Regions from separate parts of the Homo sapiens genome. Here region 2 is linked to region 1. Evidence: promoter capture Hi-C in 16 types of primary human blood cells and fetal thymus (Javierre and others, 2016). All regions are on one chromosome and are shown on one strand. The core of a region is centred on a gene start or on the middle of the fragment in contact, and the rest is flanking DNA. Distances in the headings are between cores, read along the strand shown.

The links. The method cuts DNA at HindIII sites, captures the fragments that hold promoters and counts their contacts. A CHiCAGO score of 5 or more calls a contact.
Region 2: a fragment that was not itself captured here is called in contact with the fragment with the promoter of TDRD12 in region 1 in 4 of 17 cell types (naive CD4 T cells, total CD4 T cells, non-activated CD4 T cells and 1 more); the score reaches 8.8 in naive CD4 T cells.

Annotation. Positions count from the first base shown.
Region 1 is chr19:32,717,356-32,723,932 of GRCh38, reverse strand. It overlaps TDRD12 (tudor domain containing 12), which reads right to left and starts at 4,166. Exons shown (of 33, transcript NM_001366102.1): 1 at 3,837-4,166. The coding sequence starts at 3,860. The HindIII fragment of the contact is 20,000 bases long and covers 1-6,577 here.
Region 2 is chr19:32,933,640-32,940,564 of GRCh38, reverse strand. CEP89 (centrosomal protein 89) reads left to right here. Exons shown (of 19, transcript NM_032816.5): 6 at 680-708; 7 at 2,892-2,934; 8 at 6,896-6,925. Among named protein-coding and RNA genes, the nearest start is that of CEP89, 35 kb to the left of the region's middle. RefSeq lists enhancers at 3,945-4,444, 4,445-4,946. The HindIII fragment of the contact is 2,706 bases long and covers 2,972-5,677 here.

The sequences.
Region 1 (6,577 bases), core at 2,917-5,416:
TAAGTTGTGATTACAGCACTGCGCTCCAGCCTGGCCAACAAAGCAAGACCCTGTGTCTTTTACTGAAAAACAAAACAAAACCCAGTAATTACTTAAAGGTCTAAATCTTAAAAATATGTGCAAAATTCCTATGCTGAAAGTTATAAAACACTGACGGAAAGAAATGAAAGATCTAAATAAGTATAGATATACTGTATTAATATATATTTCTCTGAACCCATCTATAAATACAACTCCATTCCAGCATGGTTTTTTTTTTTTTTTTGGTAGACTCAGCAAGCAATTACAAAATGCATATTACAAAAGCTAAGGAACTAGAACAATTCTGAAAAAGAATATAGTTGGAAGACTCATATCACCTGACTTCAAGAGTTATCTATAAAGGGCCAGGCACGGTGGCTCATGCTTGTAATCCCAGCACTTTGGGAGGCCGAGATGGGTGGACCACGAGGTCAGGAGATCGAGACCATCCTGGCTAACACAGTGAAACCCTGTCTCTACTAAAAATAAAAAAATTAGCCGGGCATGGTGGCGGGCACCTGTAGTCCCAGCTACTTGGGAGGCTGAGGCAGGAGAATGGCATGAACCCGGGAGGCAGAGCTTGCACTGTGCCGAGATCACACCACTGCACTCCAGCCTGGGGGACAGAGCAAGACTCCGTCTCAAAAAAAAAACAAAATAGTTACCTATAAAGCTACAGTAATAAGACAGTGTGGTATTGTGCATAAATCAATATAACAGGAATATAATCACACATATAGTCAATTGATTTTTGATAAGACACAAAGGAGGACGGATAGTCATTTCAACAAATGATGTTGGAACAGTTAGATAATCACGTGCAAAGAAATGAAACTTCATCCATTCCTTGCACCATATACAAAAATTAACTCGGATCATATATCTAAATGTAAAATATAAAATTATAAAACTTCTAAAAGGTTACATGGGGGGGCCAGGTGCAGCAGTTCTTGCCTGTAATCCCAGCAGTTTGGGAGGCCGAGGAGGGCAGATCACTTGAGGTCAGGAGTTGCAGACCAGCCTGGACAAGATGCTGAAACCCCGTCTCTACCAAAAATATAAAAATTAGCCGGCTGTGGTGGCACGCGCCTGTAATCCCAGCTACTCAGGAGGCTGAGGCAGGAGAATCGCTTGAACTCGGGAGGCGGAGGTTGCAGTGAGCCGAGATTGCTCCACCACACTCCAGCCTGGGCAACAGAGCGAGACGCCGTCTCAAAAAAAAAAAAAAAAAATTTTTTTTAAATAATAAAAGGATACATGGGGGAAAAAAATCTTTGTGACTGTGAGTCAGACAAAGATTTCTCAGATATTTAAGGCTAAATAATATGCCATTGTGTATGTACAAACCACCTTCCGTTTACCCAGTCATCTGTTGATGGATACATGGAGGGAAAAATATTTCATCCTTGTAAAAGCTAACTTCATCTGCAGGACAGGTGGTACCTACACAGCACTTGGGGAGACACTCCTATTCAGGACAGAATTTGCTCAGGGGGTGAGCTGGTTGAGGGCCAGAAGTGGGGGCAGATCAGAGTTGAGCAGGTAAATGAAAGAGTTCCTGGGCCCAACTGAGAGGAAAGGGGTTCGCGAACAGGAGGCAGCAAGTCCAGCTCCTGCTATCAAAGTTCTGCCGGGATGGTTGTGCATGTTTCAGGATGTGTAGCCCTGGAAGAGCCCTGTCTCTTCTAAAGAAGAAATCGGACTAGCATCGTTAGGACTGACAGACAACATCTGACTGGAGGAGAGGAGCTCGCCTGGTGGATCTGAACACCTAAAAGTCTGAGGGCAAATTCTCTGTAAGAGTCAGCTTCCTCAAACATTTGTGAATCTTTGTTCAGAGAGATTACACAAGACATCAAGTAAGAGCAGGAGAGTGCTGGTTTTAAAAATCGCACCGGCCGGGCGTGGTGGCTCACGCCTGTAATCCCAGCACTTTGGGAAGCCGAGGCGGGTGGATCACGAGGTCAGGAAATGGAGACCATCCTGGCTAACATGGTGAAACCCCGTCTCTACTAAAAATACAAAAAAAAAAAAAAATTAGCCAGGCGTGGTGGTGGCCGCCTGTAGTCCCAGCTACTTGGGAGGCTGAGGCAGGAGAATGGCGTGAACCCGGGAGGCGGAGCTTGCAGCGAGCTGAGATCGCGCCACTGCACTCCAGCCTGGGTGACTGAGCAAGACTCCTTCTCAAAATAAAATAAAATAAAATAAAATAAAATAAAATAAAATAAAATAGGCCAGGCACGGTGGCTCACGCCTGTAATCCCAGCACTTTGGGAGGCGGAGGCAGGTGGATCACCTGAGGTCAGGAGTTCGAGAACAGCCACGTGGTGAAACCCTGTCTCTACTAAAAATACAAAAATTAGCCAGGTGTGGTGGCAGGCACCTGTAATCCCAGCTACTCGGGAGGCTGAGGCAGGAGAATCACTTGAACCCGGGAAGCGGAGGTTGCAGTGAGCTGAGGTCACACCACTGCACTCCAGCCTAGACAACAAGAGCGAAACTCCATCTCAAAAAAATAAATGAATAAATAATAAAATAAAATAAAACAATCCCACAATCTGCTACGTCCAGCTCCTGGGCCCACTGAAGTGTGATTTTCAAAGTATTTAGATTTCCTTTCTCCAATAACCCATACCCACCCCTCTGCTCTGGCCTGTCAACTCCTTCCTCCAGCAACGCTTTCCCCTTCACCAATGAGCCCTCACTGGACTCCAAGGGGGAAAAGCAAGGGTCCAGGCGGGCGTCCCTTCCCCGAGGACTAGAACAACGCCCACGCAGAGCCCACGCGGTGAGCGGATAGGGCAACAGAGACTGGGGGCATGAGGGAAGCCCGGACCCATGGGCTGGGGCTGCCCGGGCCACCCGACCCTGTCCAGGCGCCGAGCCTAAGGGCCCCGTGGAGTACGGAGAGCGGGGCCCTGGGGACGCCAGTGTCGCTTGGCCCGGGTGATCGAGCATTCGGAGGAGCAACCAATTCCGCGCTCCTCCAGGTGCATCCCGGAGCACGCCAGGGCCCGTGAAACCCGGGCTCATCCGGGTTCTACCCCAGCTCCCAGCCCGGGGTGCCCCCTGGTGGGGGCGCAGGGAGGGTTCAGGTGGGGGAGGGCGGGGTGGGGTTGGAGTGGAGGTGGGGTGGGCTGCGGCTGGGGTGCAGGTGGGAGTGGAGATGGGGTGGTGGTGGGGTGTGTGGGGCTGAGTGTGGGGGGATGAAATGTTGGGGTGGAGGTGTGAGTGGGGGCGGTGGGAATAAGGATGGGGTGGGGACAGGGGCGAGGGTGTGACTGTGGGGTGGGCAGCGATAAGGAAACGGGTGGGAGCTGGGGCTAGGGTAGGAGTTGGGGGTGTGTGGGGTTGGGAGTGGGATGGGTTGGGGTGGGAGTGGGGTGGGAGTGGGGGCGTGGTGTGGCGGCATGGGATATACGGGGTTGGGATGTGTGGGAGTGGGATGGAGTGTGCAGCAGTGAGATGGGGTGGGGGCATGTGTGAGTGTGGGGGTGGAGCTGGGTGGGAGTGGGTGTGGGAGGATGTGTGGGTTGGGGGAGGAGTGGGCGTGGGGAGTAGGTGTGGGCTGAGAGGGAGTGGACATGGGGGGGATGCGTGGGCTGGGAGGAGTGGGTGTGGAGGGATGTGGAGGCTGGGATGGGGGGAGGGGTGGGGGCTGTGTAGGGTTGGGGTCGGGGGTGGGAGGCTGTGCGGGGCTGCGGTGGGTGTAGGAAGCTGTGCGGAGCTGGGGTGGGGGTGGGAGGCTGTGCGCGGCTGGGGTGGGGGTGGGGGACTGCGTGGGTCTGGCGTGGGTCTGGCTTGGCGGCGCTCACCTTCAGCACCAGGAGCTGGAGCATCCTCCTGGCGCCCGAGGGCAGATGGGCCCCCTCGCCCTGGAAGTCCCCTACCGTCGCGGGTGAGGCTGGCTGCGTCCGCCCCGGCCAGGCCCCCGCCGCGAGTGCGTTCCTTCCCTCCACCTTTAGCGCCTGGGCCCCCCGCGGCAGGTGCCCCACACTCCTCGTCCCCAGGAGCCCTCGCGGACCCCGGGGTCGGCTCGAGGCAATGCGCTCCGTCCTGGCAGTAACCAGCCCCTCGCTGCGGGATCCCTGCCTGCCTGGCCTCGGGCCTCCCGCACCCACCGGATGCCCGCGCACGCTGAGCAGGCCTTGAGGCGTCGGAGACCACGTGGTCCACCCAACGGCCCAACAACGTAAGGCACAGCGCCACGCGGTGGCCAGGAGGACTGACGCGCGGAGGCCCTGGGAGGCCCGGCTAGGGGTCGCGTGATTCTCTCTTTTGCAGCCAGCAGGACTGCCCTGCAGGCCCCAGGGACACTCGCCTGTCCCCCGGAGGGACAGAGGGGCCGCGTGCGGCTGAGTCCGTTGGAAACCACCTTTGCAAAATTGTAACTGAGGAAATTGTGATGGTGAAAGAAATCAGACCTAATCAACTCCATCTTGCCTCTAACCTTTAAGCTGTCCTTGTTTATTCCTGGGCGGAAGCCCAACTAACCTTGGGAAGGAATTCAGTCCATGGTTTGACTCTGAAACAAAATTGATAAGAGCCTGTGAATCCTGAAAATGTGAGATAGGTCTCAGTTCATTTAGAAAGTTTATTTGGCCAGCAGAGCGAGGTGGCTCAGGCCTGTAATCCCAGCGCTTTGGGAGGCGAGGGGTGCGGATCACCTGATAAGGTTAGGAGTTGGAGACTAGCATCCTCGACATGGTGAAACCCCGTCTCTACTAAAAATAGAAAAATTAGCCTGGCATGGTGGGGAGCGCCTCTAATCCCAGCTACTTGGGAGGCTGAGACAGGAGAATCGCTTGAACCCGGGAGGCAGAGGTTTCAGTGAGCTGAGATCAGGCCACTGCACCCCAGCCTGGGCGACAGAGTGAGACTCTGTCTCAAAAAACAAAACAAAACAAAAAATTTTGCCAAGGTTGAGGACAGGCGCCCCTGACACAGGAAGTCCTAACGACATTTGCTAGACGTGGTCGAGGCACAGCTTGTGTTAAAGTTGGAGGGTGTCCAGGTTCTTGGTGTCTTGAAGAAAGAATTTGACAAAAGGCACACACAAAGCAAGGAAGGAATGAAGGGTTTTATTGAAAAAGTACACTCCACAGTGTGGGAGCAGGCCTGAACACAGGGACTCAAAGGCCCGGCAGAATTTCTGTGAATTTAAATACCTTCTGCTTGGGGTACGCCCGATGTAAATGAAGACGGTGAAGTAAAGTTACGAAGTCATTTACTCGGTGTATGCCCTATGGAGAGGGTATTTCCCCTTATAGCTGAAGCGTGAATCGGCCTTATGTTCCCTACCTCCAGACCCTATTTTCCTGCCTCACTTGGTCTTTTACATTTTAGGGAGGCATGAGACAACAATCCTTGAATCAGCTCAGTGGATCAGCTGACACCACCCACACCGATAATCTGCCTCAACCAGTTCTGCCAAACCAACCAGGAAGAGTAAATAGCAAGAAAAACTCCAACAACCTCTGATTCCATCTTCAACCTGGCCAATCAGCACTCCCCACTTCCCAAGCTCCTACCCGCCCAATTGTCTTTAAAAACTCTGTTCCTCAAATGCTCGGAGAGACTGATTTGAGTAATAATAAAACTCCAGTCTCCCACACAGCCGGCTCTGCGTGAATTACTCTTTCTCCATTGCAATTCCCTGTCTTGATAAATTGGCTCTGTCTAGGCAGCGGGCAAGGTGAACCCATTAGGTGGTTACAAGTTCATTATTTTATTTTTAAAGAGACAGGATATGGCTCTCTTGCCCAAGCTGGAGTGCAGTGGCACAATCATGGCTCACTGCAGCCTTGAATTCCTGGGCTCAGTTGATCCTCCATCTTCAGCCTCTCAAGTAGCTGGGACTACAGGCATGCACCACCACGCCTGGATAATTTTTTAATTTTTTTGTAGAGATGGGGGTCTCGCTGTGTTGCCCAGGCTGGTGTTGAACTCCTGGGCTCAAGCCATCCTTCCGCCTCAGCCCCCTGAGCAGCTAGGATTACAGGCATGAACCACCACACCAGGCCCTCAGTTGGTCCTTGTTGCCTGCTAAGGGGCCCCTGTCCTCCTGCTTTCTCTAGGCCAGCCTACACCCCTTAAACGCTGTGAGCTGGAAGCCTTGGTGGTGAGGAAGAGTCCTGGACAGTCATGAATCCCTGGGTCTTCGTGGCCTCCTGGCAACATTTCCATTTGATCTGCACCTTTTGGAAAGGTTCCTGGTCCTGGATTTCTTCCCAGCTGGACTTCAACTGGCAGGGCTCTCCGAGTCTAAACGAGTTAATTTGCTAGTAAGGGAACCAACAAGATGACAAAAGACTGCAAGAGTTTGGAGAGAGCATGGAAACTGTGGAGTTATTATTTGGGGAACAGAATGCTCACATAAGCATGCAGTTCTATAAGAAAACTGGATTGCACGAGGTCCCACAGATAACATGCACTTAAACTCTCAGGCAGGATGGTTGCAGAGGAAAGGTGTGTAGCTGCCAGTCGGGAGAAAAACACAGCTGCAAAGTGCGTGATGTTCACCTGTTCCTGAAATTAGGTTGACAAGGCCTCCCCT
Region 2 (6,925 bases), core at 3,075-5,574, 220 kb before region 1:
GGGTAGGCCAATAGGAGTATGCGTTGGCCCATCCAGGGAGTGGTGGGCAAGATGTGTGGAGCGTGATGGGGAGGAGTATTGGAAGGAGAGGAGGAGCCCGGCATGGGAAGATGTGTGGAGCGTGATGGGGAGGAGTGTTGGAAGGAGAGGAGGAGCCCGGCATGGGAAGATGTGTAGAGCGTGATGGGGAGGAGTGTTGGAAGGAGAGGAGGAGCCCGGCATGGGAAGATGTGTGGAGAGTGATGGGGAGGGGTGTTGGAAGGAGAGGAGGAGCCCGGCATGGGAAGATGTATAGAGCGTGATGGGGAGGAGTGTTGGAAGGAGAGGAGGAGCCCGGCATGGGAAGATGTGTGGAGAGTGATGGGGAGGGGTGTTGGAAGGAGAGGAGAAGCCTGGCATGGGAAGGGCTTGGAGACACTGAAGAGTTTGGCTTTGGTTCTGCAGCCACGTGAGCCACGGATGGTGGTCAGGCATGGGTATGGGAGAGAGATGACAATTTAGAGTCAGGCCCCAGCCTGGCTCTGGGACCCACTTGCCCTGTGACCCTGTGAATTTTATCCCTGTTCTGGGCCTTGTCGAGCTCCTCTGTAGAAGGTGAATTTCTATGATTGTACTTTCTGAGTTGTCATATTTCATTATCTACTTTAAAAGTTTATCTCTCTCTCTTTTTCTTCATCAGATGGTAAACACCCTGTTCTGAATTTAAAGGTAAGATCATTTTTTTTAAAAACTGATTTTCTCAATAAATAGAGTTTTTATCATAATTTTTCATAAATTTTCAACAACTTTGGTGTTGAAACTTTGGCGGTGATTTTGGGGCAAAAATAAATCTTCCCTTAAGAGTTCTTTCCTGTTGAATATTTCTTTTAAATGCTTTTTTTTTTTTTTGAGAAGGGGGTCTCACTGTCACCCAGACTGGAGTGCAGTGGCGCAATCTCAGCTCACTGCGGTCTCCGTCTTCCAGGCTCAAGCGATCCTCCCACCTCAGCCTCCCGAGTAGCTGGGATCGCAGATGCATGCCACCACACCCAGCTAATTTGTTGTATTTTTGATAAAGATGGGGTTTCACCATATTACCCAGGCTGGTCTCAAACTCCTGAGCTCAAGTGATCTGCCCATCTCGACCTCCCAAAATGCTGGGATTACAGGCATGAGCCACTGTGCCTGGCCTTAAATACTTTTAAAACATGAGGAAATTGATATTTTCCATAGTTTAATGATGAAAGTAATGTATTAAAGGGTTAGAAACTACTTTATAATTAAAATGAATGTGGAATGAATAGACAATTTTATCTTTTGTTAAAATTATTTTTTGAGACAGGATCTCCCTCTGTGACCCGGGCTGGAGTGCAGTGGTGTGATCATAGCTCACTGTAGCCTCAATCTCCTGGGATCAAGTGATTCTTTTGCCTCAGTCTCCTGAGTAGCTGGGACTACAGGCACATGCCACCACTCCTGGCTAATTAAAAAAAAATTTTTTTTTAGAGATGGGGTCTTGTTATGTTGCCCAGGATGGTCTCAAGCTCCTGGGCTCAAGCGATCCTCCTGCCTTGGCCTCCCAAGGGCATTGGGATTGCAGGCATGATGTGACGTGCCTAGCCTGAGATATTTTTCTGAGATGGAGTCTTGCTCTGTCACCCAGACTGGAGTGCAGTGGCGCAGTCTCGGCTCACTGCAACCTCCGCCTCCTGGATTCAAGTGATTCTCCTGCCTCATCCTCCCGAGTAGCTAGGACCACAGGTGCATGCCACCATGCCCAGCTAATTTTTGTATTTTTAATGGAGATGAGATTTCACCATGTTGGCCAGTCTGGTCTCAGACTCCTGACCTCAGGCGATCCCACCTGCCTCGGGCTCCTAAAGTGCTGGGATTACGGGTGTGAGCCACCACACCTGGCCTGGCCTGAGAATTTTAATAACTAATTTGCAAACATGGAAATAGTTCTAACTTAAGTTTTTCATTGTGCGATGTCATAGGAACTTAAAAATTAAACATTTCTCTGCAGAGTTAATTTATAACCTTGTCTACTTTGTCAGCAGAAATTAGAAACTTAATATCACACCACCATGTAAGGAAAAATTAACAAAAGTTCACAGCCTTCCCTTTCCTCTAGGTTTGGGGTTGAGAAGCAATATCTTACTGTTCCTTTCTCAGCATTTTGCAAATGTGCTTCCCTGCAGTTGATGGGGTCCTTTTTGCCCATCCCAGTGAGAAGAGGCCTGGCTGGAGTTTGCTGAGGGCATCTCTGCTCAGCACTTGCAGCCCTACCTAGCACATGCTTTTCAACGTGAGCCCACAGCCCGCTACTCACGGGATCTACCTGTAAGGACAGTCACTGAACTCAGTGCAGAAAGGCAGGAAGAAAGCTCAGGCAGGACTTCCTTTATAGCCTCAGAGAGCCCACCAGAGGGGAAGACACTTAAGGTCTCAGATTCAGGTATAAGAAACAGTGTAATCCCAGCATGTTGGGAGACCAAGGTAGGAGGATCCCTTGAGCCCAGGAGCTCAAGGCTAGCCTGGACAACAGGAGACCCCATCTCTACAAAAAAAAAAAAAAAAAAATTAGGTGTGATGGCCCATGTGTAATCCCAGCTACTTGGGAGGCTGAGGTAGGAGGATTTCATGAGCCCAGGAGTTGGAGGCTGCAGTGAGCTGCGATCACACCACTGCACCCTAGCCTGGGTGACAGAGTAAGACCCTGTCTTAAAAAAGGAAAAAAAGAAATAGTACATATTAAAGTTTTGAAAGCTAAAACAAACAAAGAACAAGAGTCAAAATGAAGGAAATAAAGCATGCTTATATACCTGCTGTCTAATGACCTAGCTGCGTGTGTCCACTTTATAAAACACTAATGCTCTGCACTTATTCCTCTTATGTTCTTTCTTTCCTAGGATGAAAAACCTCCATTATGTGAGAAACCTCCACCCTCCCCAGGTATTTGCCTTTTGAATTATATTATGATTGAAAAGCTTGTTTTGGAGAATATCCAGATTAATTTTATCTGAAAATAAAGATTACATTTTCTTTTTCTTGTATTAGTTGTTGAACTTTCACCCTTGCCTCAAAAGAGAGGGTCCAAACACTAGGTAGTGGACGTATGTCCATACAGGATGTGCTTGGGTCCTGGGAGGGTGGGGGTTGGACCTGGGGGGACGTGGACCTGTGGGATATGCTGGGATCCTGGGGGAAGGGAGGTGGACCTGTGGGATGTAATGGGATCCTGGGGGTGGAAGGAGGACCTGTGGGATGTGCTGGGATCCCAGTGGGAGGAGTGGACCCATGATGTACTGGGATCCGTACTGGGAAGGCAGGTGCAGTTATGGGCTCTGCTCTGAGGCTGAAGGCAGAGGGAGAGGTCTAGAGATGCTTTATGGGTTATGCCCCCTGAACAGTTTGGGGAGCTTCAGTGGCTTCCAAAATGGAGGTTATAATTTTTGCTGTTAGGTCCCACATTGTTACAAGATCTTTGGGGTGTCGCTTTTCTGGTCGGAAATGTCTGTGGTGCCAGTGTGCCTTTGCCTGAGTTCTTGTCCTGCGTCCAGGAAGAATGAGGTAAGCAGACAAGTGGAGGGTGAGCAAGACGAAGAGGAGCTTTACTGCATGTTAGAACAGTTCAGAGGAGACCCACAGTGGGTAGCTCCTCTCTGTAGGCAGGTCGTCCCGTTAAGTGTTCAGCTCTCAGCAGAGAGGAGGTCCCCTGGAGTCGATGGCTCCTCTCTGAAGGCAGGTCACCCAACTGTCTCTGCAGCTCTCAGCAAAGAGGAAGCCCTGGAGAGGGTTGTTCTTCTCTGCAGCTGGTTATTCTGACCAGCTCCTAGTAGAGAGGAGGCCCTGGAGTGGGTTGCTCCTCTCTGCTGCTGGTCCTCTGACATCTCCAGCTATCAGCAGAGAGGGGAACTCCTCTCTGCAGCTGGTCATCTCATCTGCTCTGCTCCAACTAAGCCCAGGGCTTTTATGGGCCTCAGAAGGGAGGAAGTGCGCACCGATTGGTCCATGGGTGGCCATGGGTGGGCCTGGAAAAGGCACCATAAGTTCCTACTGCAGTCCCACGGGACAGGCAACCCGGTCCCCAGCCTTCAGGCCCTCTCCGACCTGAAGGCGGGGCCTCACCGGGGACCTGCCTGCTTCTGCCCAGGAACCTGTCTCCCTCCTGCTGCCCAGTCCATGGCACCCAGGCTGCTCACACCAAGGGGCAACTGCAGGCCAGTGCAGAGCCATCCTCAGCACCCCCTTGTCTTTCCCTCCTGTGCTCATGGGTGCCCAAAGTCTGGAGGGGGCTGAGGCGGCAGGGCGCTGTCGTGTCAGTACTGCCCTGAGTATGCACACTCCCAGCCAGGCTGTGACAGTGCCCAGGCTTGGCCTAAACCCCGCTCCAACCCTGCTGCAAGACTGGAGCAGGCACCAGGAGCAGGGAGAGACCAGGCAGCTAGAGCAAACACCCATAAGCCTGCGGGGACACGGGAGCCTTCCCAGGCCCCCGAGGGTGCAGACTGCAGAGACACCCAGGTCCTACACATGGGAGGGCAACTGTAGCAGCACCCCATGAGCTCCTGCCCCACCAACTCAGAAGGGGCAGGGCTCCCGCTTGTCCCCGGCTCCTGATGGCTCTGTGGAGCATGCAGCCCTGACCATACCTCTGGAGCAGGTGCCCACAGTGGGGTGAAGCCAGGCAGTGGGATCAGGCACTTCGGAGCCTATGGTGGGTGGTGGGGGCCTTCTTGGGCCCCCAAGAACACAGAGATTCTCGGGTCTGCAGCCGGGCTTGGGCAGCTGCAGCAGCACCCAGGGAGGGCCGGGGCTCCTGCCTGCTCCATGGAGCAAGAGGCTTGGGCCACACCTCCCTGCTCTAGAGTCTGTGCGGTGGCCACTCTAGATGGGCCACTGCTGCCATCAGTGTCACTGCTCTGAAAATCCTGGTTTAAGTCTCCTCCGCGTCAGATTAACTTTATTTGCACCCTTTCAATCTCAGCATTTTCAATGCTGTATTCTGGGCGATTGCTGGGGCTCCAACTTCTGCGCCATGCATTCATTTTTCATGATGTGTATCCTGCGGCTCAGCCCATCCTTTCAGTTTATGGTGTTAATCAAACGTTAACTTCCATGATTTCTGTGACACTGACTACGTCTCTCTGAAAGTTGTAACCATGCGCATCCAGTCTTAGGGTTTGTGTTGCAGCCCCTTCTCTTCTCTCACTTGCCATTGGTGTTCTCTGGCTCTGCTGTTTGATACCTCTTGGGGTCTCTGAGATTCCCTGTGGCCCACATGGGGATGCTACCTCTGTTTACTGCACCCTGCCTGAAGAGGGAGAGCCAGCAGGCTGCCAGGCTGTACCGACTGCTGCCTCCAGCAACTGATGGGGATGGACAGGATGTGAGGCCCACCGGGATCCGTGGGGACCCCTCTTCCTCCTGGCTTTCTCCAGCCCCCTGCCCTGCCTTTCTGCCCTCAGGGCCTGTGTGTTCTGCCTGAGGAGGGGCACACATTTCTGCTGTTGCTGCCTGGGTCAGGTGGGTTAACCCCTTGCTATTCCCACTCTGGTTATCTAACTCAACAGCTCATCAGCTGCTTCAAGCTGCTTCTTTTTAAATATAATTTTATTTATTGATTGATTTTTGTAGAGATGGGCTCTTGCTATGTTGCTCAGGCCGGTCTCGAACTCCTGGCCTCAAGCAAGCTTCCTGCCTCAGCTTCCCAAAGTGCTGGGATTGCAGGTGCGAGCCACCAGGCCCAGCCTCATCAGCTCTTTCTAGGCCACTTTGTGTCTCCACTCCTACCAGGGCAAGGTGTATCCCTGGAGCCACCCCTCCCCATTTTCTAGCTGCCCTCTCTTGGCACATTTCAGGCTTGGCACCCATCTTCATTCTCATCTCAACTGTTTTATCTCTGGGATTTCTCAGGGTTCCCTTGTTTCTATGTAGCTGTGGAGTTTCCCATTTCTGAGCCTCACCTTTTGCATGTTAGGGATTGGATATGTGTGTGTCAGAGGTTGGGCCAGGCTCTCTGGAGCCACCAGCCATCCTGCCCTCGTCTGTGTGGAAGCTCTGCTTCCGCCTCTCCCTCCCCTGGGAGGTGCGCTGGCCAGGGCCCATGGGAGCCTCACCTCCTGTGACCTTTCGGAGCACATCTCCCCGTGGAACAGCGCTGGTTTCCACCCCACTTTCTTGCTCTTCCTTCTTAAGGTCCTATGTGACCTCGGTTTTCTCCTCACCCTGGTGCCTTCAGGTGCTGCCCACAGGCCAGTGGCTCGTCAGTCTCCCCAGCAGAGGCTGCCCTGGGACTCTGGGCCTCTGTACCAACCCAAGCCTGCCTCTCCTCATCTTCCATCCCCACCTGCTCTTCACAGTGTGCTCCTCATCTGGGGGAGCATCTGCCAGACACAGACCTGGGTGGTCATCCTGGGTCTGCTTCTCTCTCACTGCCCGCACCCAGCCAGCCACCAGCCCCTGAGTCCTGCTCTCATGTGTCCTTTTCTCTGTGTCCCCACTCTAGTGCTGCCCCTCAGCTGTTGGGCTAGGCCTCATTCTAACCTGCCTTCTTCCCTGCTGGCCTGAGGGATTCACCCAAGAGCAGAGCCTCTTCCTTCTCACACCTTTGCTTGAAAGCCCTGCTGGCTCCTGCTGCCCTGCAAGATGAACTTTCCATGCCACATCACAATAGGCACGGCCTCCTGCAGCTCTGGCCTCCCTTTCTGGCCTCCCCTCAGTACCTCTCTTCCTGCCACCCGCTGTGACTTCATCAGGCCACTTACTGTTTCCTGTAGAAGCCATTCCCTTCCCAGGGACCAAAGAACATGGCACCAGGCCTGATGTGGTTTTTGGAACAAAGTCAGTTGATTTTGATGTAACATTGTCAACATCAATTAACATTGTAAAATTTTCCCCTGAACCCTTTCAGATATAACTGGTAGAGCACGTCAAAGATATA